Regions from separate parts of the Homo sapiens genome. Here region 1 is linked to region 2. Evidence: promoter capture Hi-C in 16 types of primary human blood cells and fetal thymus (Javierre and others, 2016). All regions are on one chromosome and are shown on one strand. Each heading gives the region's core, a stretch centred on a gene start or on the middle of the fragment in contact. The rest is flanking DNA. Distances are from core to core; before and after follow the strand shown. Region 1 has its middle 6.8 kb from the start of LCE1A. Region 2 holds the start of LCE1F (late cornified envelope 1F).

What was found. The method cuts DNA at HindIII sites, captures the fragments that hold promoters and counts their contacts. A CHiCAGO score of 5 or more calls a contact.
Region 1: a fragment that was not itself captured here is called in contact with the fragment with the promoter of LCE1F in region 2 in 9 of 17 cell types (naive CD4 T cells, M2 macrophages, total CD4 T cells and 6 more); the score reaches 7.5 in naive CD4 T cells.

Annotation. Positions count from the first base shown.
Region 1 is chr1:152,818,301-152,823,024 of GRCh38, forward strand. No RefSeq gene overlaps it. Among named protein-coding and RNA genes, the nearest start is that of LCE1A, 6.8 kb to the right of the region's middle. The HindIII fragment of the contact is 1,302 bases long and covers 1,563-2,864 here.
Region 2 is chr1:152,772,762-152,777,494 of GRCh38, forward strand. It overlaps LCE1F (late cornified envelope 1F), which reads left to right and starts at 2,379. Exons shown (of 2, transcript NM_178354.3): 1 at 2,379-2,429; 2 at 3,589-4,263. The coding sequence starts at 3,611. The coding sequence ends at 3,967. The HindIII fragment of the contact is 9,364 bases long and covers 1-4,733 here.

The sequences.
Region 1 (4,724 bases), core at 964-3,463, 45 kb after region 2:
CTTGAGCAAATTAGCATATCCCCTATTATGCAGCTATTGATCTGGATTTTTTTTCTTCTTACCTATTAGTAATGACTACCAGAATCAGGTTGTTTTCAGCTGGCAAGGGCAGCAATACAACTTCACTGTCTTACCTGCCACCATGGCCACTTTGTTCATGAGCTCATTGGGAAATGACAGGAGAGGCTGGGCAAAGAGTCTGACTGGTATCCACAGAATAGGTTATCCTATCCACTTATTTATTAAAGTCTCTGCTAAGGTTATTGTTTAGTAAACATTCATATGGAACACAAATATCTTACATTTTTTGCTCATTTAAAGAGCTCTCTGCACATACCCCTTCCCCTATTCTCCTTGAGTAGCTATTGTTCTCCTCACCCTGTCCTCTGCAGGTGGTGGCCTTGGAACTTCAGGGGCCAGTGGGACACACTGGCTTGAATTGGGGTCAATGAGGGCAGGAGTGGGAAGGGACTTCCAACGCTGTTTGTCCTATGTCAATTGGCCTGAAGCAGCATTGCTTGTGACCAAGTCTGAAATGTCTTTTGTAAACACAGCTTCTTTGCCTCTGGTCCCCTTCAAGGCCCTGACTGGTCTCTCCATGCTCCTCTCCCTCTGTGAGCGCCACCTTCTCCTCCTCACCTAGCTCCACCCAACATCCTTCCTCCCTCACACATGTATGCACATACACACACATCACATGCAAATACACACACTTCCACACAAGTACAGGTGCACACGCACGCATGCACACATGGATGCATGCATATGGAAGAAAAAAGAAAAGAAAAATAGATTAATAAAATAGAAAGCAAAAAACAGAAATATATTTTGAAAATACAGTTTTCCCACTAACTACTTCTGAAATCAGTTTAGTTCGAGGCATATCTTTGTGTAAAAATTGCACTTGTATTAACCTTCCATTAAATGTCTCTTTCTTCCTCTTCCATCTCCATTAAATTCTCTGCACTTTTTTCCAGAACACATTCCCTATACCACATGTCTGAAATTGTCACTCTACTTCCTCAAAACAGAGGCTTTCTATAGAAAAATGCATGTGCTTCTTAAGTATTACATTTGAGACTCAGCAGGAATTGTTTCCAACTTCTTTTCTAAGGTTTACCATTCATACTTCCCATGACACCCCATGTTCTTGCCGCACTGAGCAACTCATAACTTACACTTGTATATATTCATCCTTTTTTTTCTGAGAAGCTGTAAGTAGAATTTACTATTCATAGCTCTGTATCTAGAATACTATAAGTCTTCAATAAAGAGTAGCTTCTCTTGATATTTTATAAGTGTTGCCACTACTACTACTGCTACCCTTAGTATCACTACTAACTACTGTAATCATTACTTACTATTACTATTAGCAGCATTACTTGCTATTTCCTCTATCTGAAGTTCCTCCAAATCTCTCCCCACCATCTGGACATTGTGTAATTCTGTCCCTCTTTTAAGGTTCACCTCAAATGTCATCCTTCTATGAAATCTTATCCGATTGTGTGTTTTCTTAAGCTGGTGGATGTTAAAAAATCTGTCTACAACCCTCACATTGAGCAAGCTTAGCTTGGAGGATGTAATAAAATTATAGCTTTTTAAAAATTTAAAAATTTTAAAAGTAAAATTGTCCTTAAAATTTTACTCAGTGGGATGGTTTTCCTTCCTAAATGACAAGTTGAAAGGCCAACTGACTTTACAGCTCTTTCAAAGTAATGCAAAATGATTTGTTACTTGAAATCACAAACGTGGGCCCAGTGCAGTGGCTCCTGCCTATAATCTCAGCACTTCGGGAGGCCCGAGAGAGAGGATCACTTGAACCTAGGAGTTTGAGACCAGGTGCGGCAACAAAGCAAGACCCCATTTCTAAAACAAAAAAATTACAAACTTGGTTTCAGTTCAGTAATGAAATATCCAGTCAGAAAAACAATATCAACGCCAAATTTGACTGGTTGGTTGATTGATTTTTTTTTTTTTTTTTTGAGACAGAGTCTCACTTTGTTGTGCAGGCTGGAGTGCAGTGGTGCAATCATGGCTCGCTGCAGCCTCAACCTCCTAGGCTCAAGTGATCCTCTCACCTCAGCCTACTGAGTAACTGGGACTACAGATGCACACCACCATGCCAGGCTGATTTTTGTATTTTTTTTTTTTTTTTAGAGACAGGATTTTGCCTGTTGTCCAGGGTGGTCTCGAACTCCTGGCCTCAAGAGGTCTGCCTGCCTCGGTCTGCCAAAGTGCTGGGATTACAGGCACAAGCCACTCTCCCCGGCCCCAAATTTGACTGAATGGCATATTTGCCCATATCCCTGCTCCAGTGGGCTGGCCCACCATACCAGAGAAAGGGAGCCTGGTCCTTCTACTCATTCCCCACCTAATGTCTGTCCTTCTCCAGCTTTCTAAATGTATTTTCTGAATGGAGAACAAAGAAAAGGCTCAGTCTGACATGTAGGCGCAATATCCTTCTGATACTGGAGCAACCAGGAAGCAGAATCCAATTTCTGACTCCTCCACTCTTGGGCATTTTAGTGTCTCCCCTCTATCTGTGATGTGAGTGATGCCTCTCCAGGGTGAATTTCTTGAAGTTCAGCCTTGGTTCCAGAATCTTCTCTTAGACAGTGGATAAATGGCTAAGAACAGTTGGTCTTGACAATGTGATCAACATCTGGTCATAGAAAGCACTCATGCATCATTTGACCCATGCTTGCAGAGGAACTAGAAACTCATCTTTGCTTAGATGACAAAACTGGTTTCATTTCCTCCATGTTTCCTGAGGGAAGAGTCGGGTCCTCATTCTGTATATCCCCCATATCAGGGACTCACCTGCAGGCTCCTCCCAGGGAAAGGACAAAGAGGGCAGGATCCTAAGCTTCTAGTCCTAGGAAATTCTCTTTCTTCCTTTTGTTTGCCGGAAATCTAGAGGATTTTTCTTATCCACCACAAGTCCCATTCTGATAAAATACTTATCTGTAACTTTCACATAATTAAACCCCAAACCTTGAGACTGGTGCAAATTTAAAAAAAAAAAAAAGAATGTAATAGTATATATATATATATATATATATACACATATATACACACACACATATATGTATGTATATATACACATATACGTATCTATGTATACACATATGTATGTATACATATATATACTATTAAATCTCTCTCTATATATATGTATATATACACAAAGAATTAAAATATGATGATGCAGGTGATGGTTATCAATGGGGAAAAGATGGCTATTCAATACCTGGAGTTAGGGAATTTTGATAACTGAAAAAAAAACGTAAACCCTCATTTAGTATTAGATGCCAAGACAAAATCCATGGGATTAAATATTTTGAGGAAATCGAATTATAAAGAAAGAAGTACTTGTAGCTAAATGTTTATCTTCTCCCAGGATTGAGAAAAACATTCTCAATATAAAAACAATTAAAGAAATTATAAAGAAAAATAAGCACAAATACATGCATATTAAATTAAATATTTTGCTAGAGAAGAGGAAAACAAAATTAAGTAAAATAATTTTTTGAAATATTTTAATATATATGAAATATAATAGAGTAATACCTTACTATATAAGTATGTGTTAAATTTTACATATGTATAAATTTCTTAAATAAAATATTTTACACAGATACAAACTTAAAAGGATTTCCTGGTAAACACTGCATGCATGTATTTTCCACTCATATTGAGAAATAAATAATCATAAATATGATTGAAACCATCCCCTTATATATCCCTTCTACCTAGAGATATTCATTATTCTGTATTTTGTGTTTTTCCTTCCTGTGCAATGCATATACTTTCCTGTGCTTATCTATCCTTAACTTATAATTTATTTATAAGTTAAAAATGTAACAATTCCTCTGTACTTAACTATACTTTATTTGTACTTAGCTATATTTTATTTATAACTTATTTCTATATTAGTTATAATTTGTATTTTTAATTTTCTAAAAGTGATCTACTCCATGACTTTGAGACATTTATCTATGTTGATACAGATGACTCAATTTCATTTTCATTTATTCTCACTATTGTATAGCATTCCAGTGTAAGAATATTCATACTTTACTTATGCATTCATCTGAAATTGGGTACTTACCTTGTTTTCACTTTGTACTTTATAAAAAGTGCTACTTTTTAACATTCTTACACATACTTTGGAACCTTTGCATCCAAGGCATACACTTATGAGAAGAATCAGCATGTTATTCAGTATATCTGCCTTCATCCTGACTAAATATTGCCAAATTACTCTTCAAAAGTTGTACTAATGTACATTCCCATCAGAGTACATGAAAATTTCTGTTATTCAACATCAATGAGAAGAATAAATAGTGAGAATTTTTCACTCTTACCAAGGTGATAGATGTGAAATTATATACCATCATGGTTTTTTCTTGCTTTTCTCTGATTCCTAGCAAGGTTGAAAAGCTTTTTCAAAAACATATTGGTTATTGGTTATTCAGGTTTTCACTTCTGGAAATCAATTTTCATGTGTTTTTCTCATTTTTCCTTTGGGTCATTGCTTTCTTCTCACTGATTTGTAGGGTTATTTATTTAGATACTAATTTGTTGTCAATTATATGTGTTGCAAATATCTTTTCATAATCTGTATTTTCATCTTTTGTGATGTTTTCTGGTTAAAGAAAATTTAATATAACCAAACTCAAGGGTTTTTGTTTGTTTGTAATGTGTTTGTCTCTGATGTGAAC
Region 2 (4,733 bases), core at 1,129-3,628:
CTGGTGTGAGATGGTATCTCATTGTGGTTTTGATTTGCATTTCTCTGATGGCCAGTGATGATGAGCATTTTTTCATGTGTCTTTTGGCTGCATAAATCTCTTCTTTTGAGAAGTGTCTGTTCATATCCTTTGCCCACTTTTTGATGGGGTTGTTTGTTTTTTCCTTGTAAATTTGTTTGAGTTCATTGTAGTTTCTGGATATTAGCCCTTTGTCAGATGAGTAGATTGGAAACATTTTCTACCATTCTGTAGGTTTCCTGTTCACTCTGATGGTAGTTTCTTTTGCTGTGCAGAAGCTCTTTAGTTTAATTAGATCCCATTTGTCAATTTTGGCTTTTGTTGCCATTGCTTTTGGTGTTTTAGACATGAAGTCCTTGCCCATGCCTATGTCCTGAATGGTATTGCTTAGGTTTTCTTCTAGGGTTTTTATGGTTGTAGGTCTAACACGTAAGTCTTTAATCCATCTTGAATTAATTTCTGTATAAGGTGTAAGGAAGGGATCCAGTTTCAGCTTTCTACATATGGCTAGCCAGTTTTCCCAGCACCATTTATTAAATAGAGAATCCTTTCCCCATTTCTTGTTTTTGTCAGGTTTGTCAAAGATCAGATAGTTGTAGATATGCAGCATTATTTCTGAGGGTTCTGTTCTGTTCCATTGTTCTATATCTCTGTTTTGGTACCAGTACCATGCTGTTTTGGTTGCTGTAGCCTTGTAGTATAGTTTGAAGTCAGGTAGCGTGATGCCTCCAGCTTTGTTCTTTTGGCTTAGGATTGACTTGGCAATGAGGGCTCTTTTTTGGTTCCATATGAACTTTAAAGTAGTTTTCTCCAATTCTGTGAAGAAAGTCATTGGTAGCTTGATGGGGATGGCGTTGAATCTATAAATTACCTTGGGCAGTATGGCCATTTTCACGATATTGATTCTTCCTACCCATGAGCATGGAATGTTCTTCCATTTGTTTGTATCCTCTTTTATTTCCTTGGGCAGTGGTTTGTAGTTCTCTTCCTGAAACTCTAAATACATGGGTGCTAGAATGTTTGATATTATTCCACTGGTCACTGATCATCTGTTCATTTTTTTAATATTTTTCCCTTTCTTCAGTTCAGTTTGAACAATTTCTTCAAGTTCACCGATCTGTTCTTCTGCAACTTATAATCTGCTAAAACCATCCAATAATTCTTTGATGTTATATGTAATTTTGACCATATTTATTTTTCAAATATTGGTTTTTTATTGTTAGATTTTGCATTTGGTTAGTTTTGAGCATGGGAAACTGGGAAATTAAACCCAGGAAATGTGTATTGCAACAAAGCCAATAATTTCAAATTAAATATTGACTATGTCTATTCTTGTCTATACCAACTACACCACTCCAAGTCACAGTTCAAAGCCACCTCATTGGCTGTTCTCTTCTCTTCACCCTTCTCATCTTTATTTTACCTCATCCCTTCAGCTTTTCCTCAGGAAACTGCAAATTCTTTTATGCTATAATTTGGGGCAATATACATCCTTTAGTCCTCTTTTCTTATACCCACTCTGGATCTACCTTCAGAAAGCCCTATTCACTGAGGTACGTAGGAGGAAAAAAAAATGGCCTTTAGTTTTAATAAGAGCCACCTAACTTAAAAGGCACCTGTGACTTTAAAAATTCCCAATGTCCATTAAAATCTCAGGTTTGCCTCTATTTTTCTTTCTATCTATCTATCTATCTATCTATCTATCTATCTATCTACCTATTCATCCATTTCCTAATTATAACCACATGCCACATACTATCTCAGCTACTTCCCCTTTGTTATCTTAATTAATTTGTAAATCCTGCAGAAAAGATATTTCTCTTATTATCTTCATTTAAAACATCAGAAAGCCAATGGCCAAAAATATTGAATACTTTGCCAGGGTCTCCAAGGCCTCTTTTCTCGACTTCTATGATGCACACACATGCCCATGTGCACATGGACAAACCCCATAATGCAGGCATGTGGATTTTTAACCAAGCTATATGGACCCAAAGGTCTAGATGGAAAATTAGTATCTAGAATAGAAGGAAAAATGAGTTGTTTGTGCAGAATTCATAAGTGTGACTACAAGACTGTGAAGAGAGCCATCTTCATAGGAAATAGGCCACGGAGGACTCCAGGAACCATGATGTCCATTTTCACCCACCACAAGCCCCCATTTCCACCAAGCTCTTTCCTAGCTGACAGCAGCTCCCCTGAACACCAATGAAGGACGGTATATGCAGAACTGCCAGTCACCACTCGTCACAAGACCTATGTGGGTGTCGGGAGGCAGGTCCTCTCATGCCCAGGCTCTGTCTCACCGCTGGAGGCAGCACCCAAGGACAGAATAAAAGGGCTCAGGGCCAGAGCATCCCATCCACTCACCTCCTGCGGTGCTGAAGAACCCTGTGCTGCCTGTGATCCTGGTAAGTGTGCCCTGGAAAAAGGAGCAGGGGCTTCCACAGAGGGATGCCCAGGCCAGGGAAGGAGGGGATGGATACTCAGACCAGGGCAGGAGTAGAGTCTAGGCAGGGCCTCAGGGGCCTGGAATTGTGATTGGCAAGGAATGGGGTGGGGGCAGAAAATTGGAAAGAGGAGGTAGAGGGGTGGGGTGGAGTGAGAGAGATTAAGAAGAACTGGTAAGATCTGAAGGGCTGTATGACACAGATTTAGAGGAACCAAATTGTTTTCAGTTGCTCAGTGTGTTTCTCTGGTTTTAGAGAATAAACACATTGGCCACTGGATGTTGCTAGAGTGGGCTGCATAGTGGGAATATAATTTTGGAAATACAGACATACTCACTTTTAGAAAAGATATGCTGAGAACACTGCTACTTAGAGGAAGAAAGGATCAAAGACACCTGTGGATCTTGTTAGATGCCAACAAGAAGATCTGTAGTGGAAAACTGAGTGCACACTGGAGTTTAAAAGCCATGTGACAGTGCCTGGGGACAGGCCTGGGGAGGCAGGATGTGCTAAAGGGCAGAGCCCAGGATGGGAACCAGGGGACCCCGGAACAAATGTGACTGTTAATGAATAACTTTGGGCCAGTGAAGTTACCTCTTTTGGCTTCAGTTTCTTTATTTATATATTGAGTTGGTTGGAACAAATTGACTCCAACATCCTTTGCGGTTATAGTTTTCTCTATTTCTGCAAACTGAAATATATCAGTTCTTCCAATAGAAATTTATTTTGATTTTTCCTTAAAGAGATTTTCATCTCTAAACTGGTCTCAACATTGAACATTTTCAGAATTCTTGGTGATGTGATAGAATGAATGCTGGCCCGGAGCCAATTTATTTCCTGGACTTCTCTCCCACACTTAGGAGCTTTTAATGAGCAGAAACTTTATTTACATATTTGGAGATTATATATTGCATGACAACATCTCAAATAAGGTTTGAAATGAGAATCCATGAATGAAAGCACTTGGTAAACATTGAGAGTGATAAAAACATTAGAGGTGATTTTCCTATGTTTGATATAAGGCTTTCAAAATGAAGGATCTAGAAATAATGCAGAAAGGACAAGAATAGGCAGGGGTGTCCTCTGCCTCCATCTAACTTGCTGTCTGACCCTCCTTCAGCTCCTGAACACCCGCCACCGAGATGTCTTGCCAGCAGAGCCAGCAGCAGTGCCAGCCCCCTCCCAAGTGCACTCCCAAGTGCCCTCCCAAGTGCCCCACACCGAAGTGCCCCCCAAAGTGTCCCCCTAAGTGCCCTCCTGTCTCTTCCTGCTGCAGCGTCAGCTCCGGAGGCTGCTGTGGCTCCAGCTCTGGGGGCTGCTGCAGCTCTGGGGGTGGTGGCTGCTGCAGCTCTGGGGGAGGCGGCTGTTGCCTGAGCCACCACAGACGGCGTAGGTCCCACCGCCACAGACCCCAGAGCTCTGACTGCTGCAGCCAGCCCTCAGCGGGCTCCAGCTGCTGCGGAGGGGGCAGTGGCCAGCACTCTGGAGGCTGCTGCTGAAGTGGACCCTGTGCCTAAAAGAGCAGATTTAGAGGCATGAAAGGGGCAACTTCATCTTCCTTGGGACTGACTGTGTTGCTGGGACATTTTAGTAAAGATTTCAAACTCTGTCCTGGAAGATTCCTCCGACCTAGAATCCAGAAATCTGCCCTCTCACAAGAATTCCTCTTCTGACCTCTGATTCCATCTGTGCGCCTGGCCTGGGAATACCAAATAGAAGTCCTTGCCTCATTCCCCTGATTTCCTTGGCAATCTCCATTGTGCATGAAACAATAAAACAAATAATCTGCTCATCACCTTTTTCTAGACTGCATTACTCTTGCTTGTAAATGTGAACAGAGGGATAAGCATGTCTTATCTCAGCTCCATCACCCGGTTATCTGGGCCTTGAAGCAGCATGGCTTGCTTAACTCCTTCAACTCCTGGTCCTCACCAGAGCTGACCCTCGCCCCTCAGTGCCTCAGCCAGGGTCAAGTCAGGAAAGAGAATTATGAGATGTACTTTAATAGACAGAAGTTTACATAAAAATTTGCTTACTTGGCATCAGAGAACTGACAAGACCAATAGAGGACAAAAAGAGTTCATGGAGGCGGTAACTGTCATTGCCACCATGCTACCAATGGCAGGTAAAGGGAGTGTCTTGAAACTATCAAAACTTAGAAACTTGGAGCAGTGGCCCACGAATTGAAACTCAGGCCTCTAGGAAAGGGGCCCTTCTCATGGGTGCCGGGGTCCCTGAGCTCAGAGGAGGGGCCCTGTGTGTCTG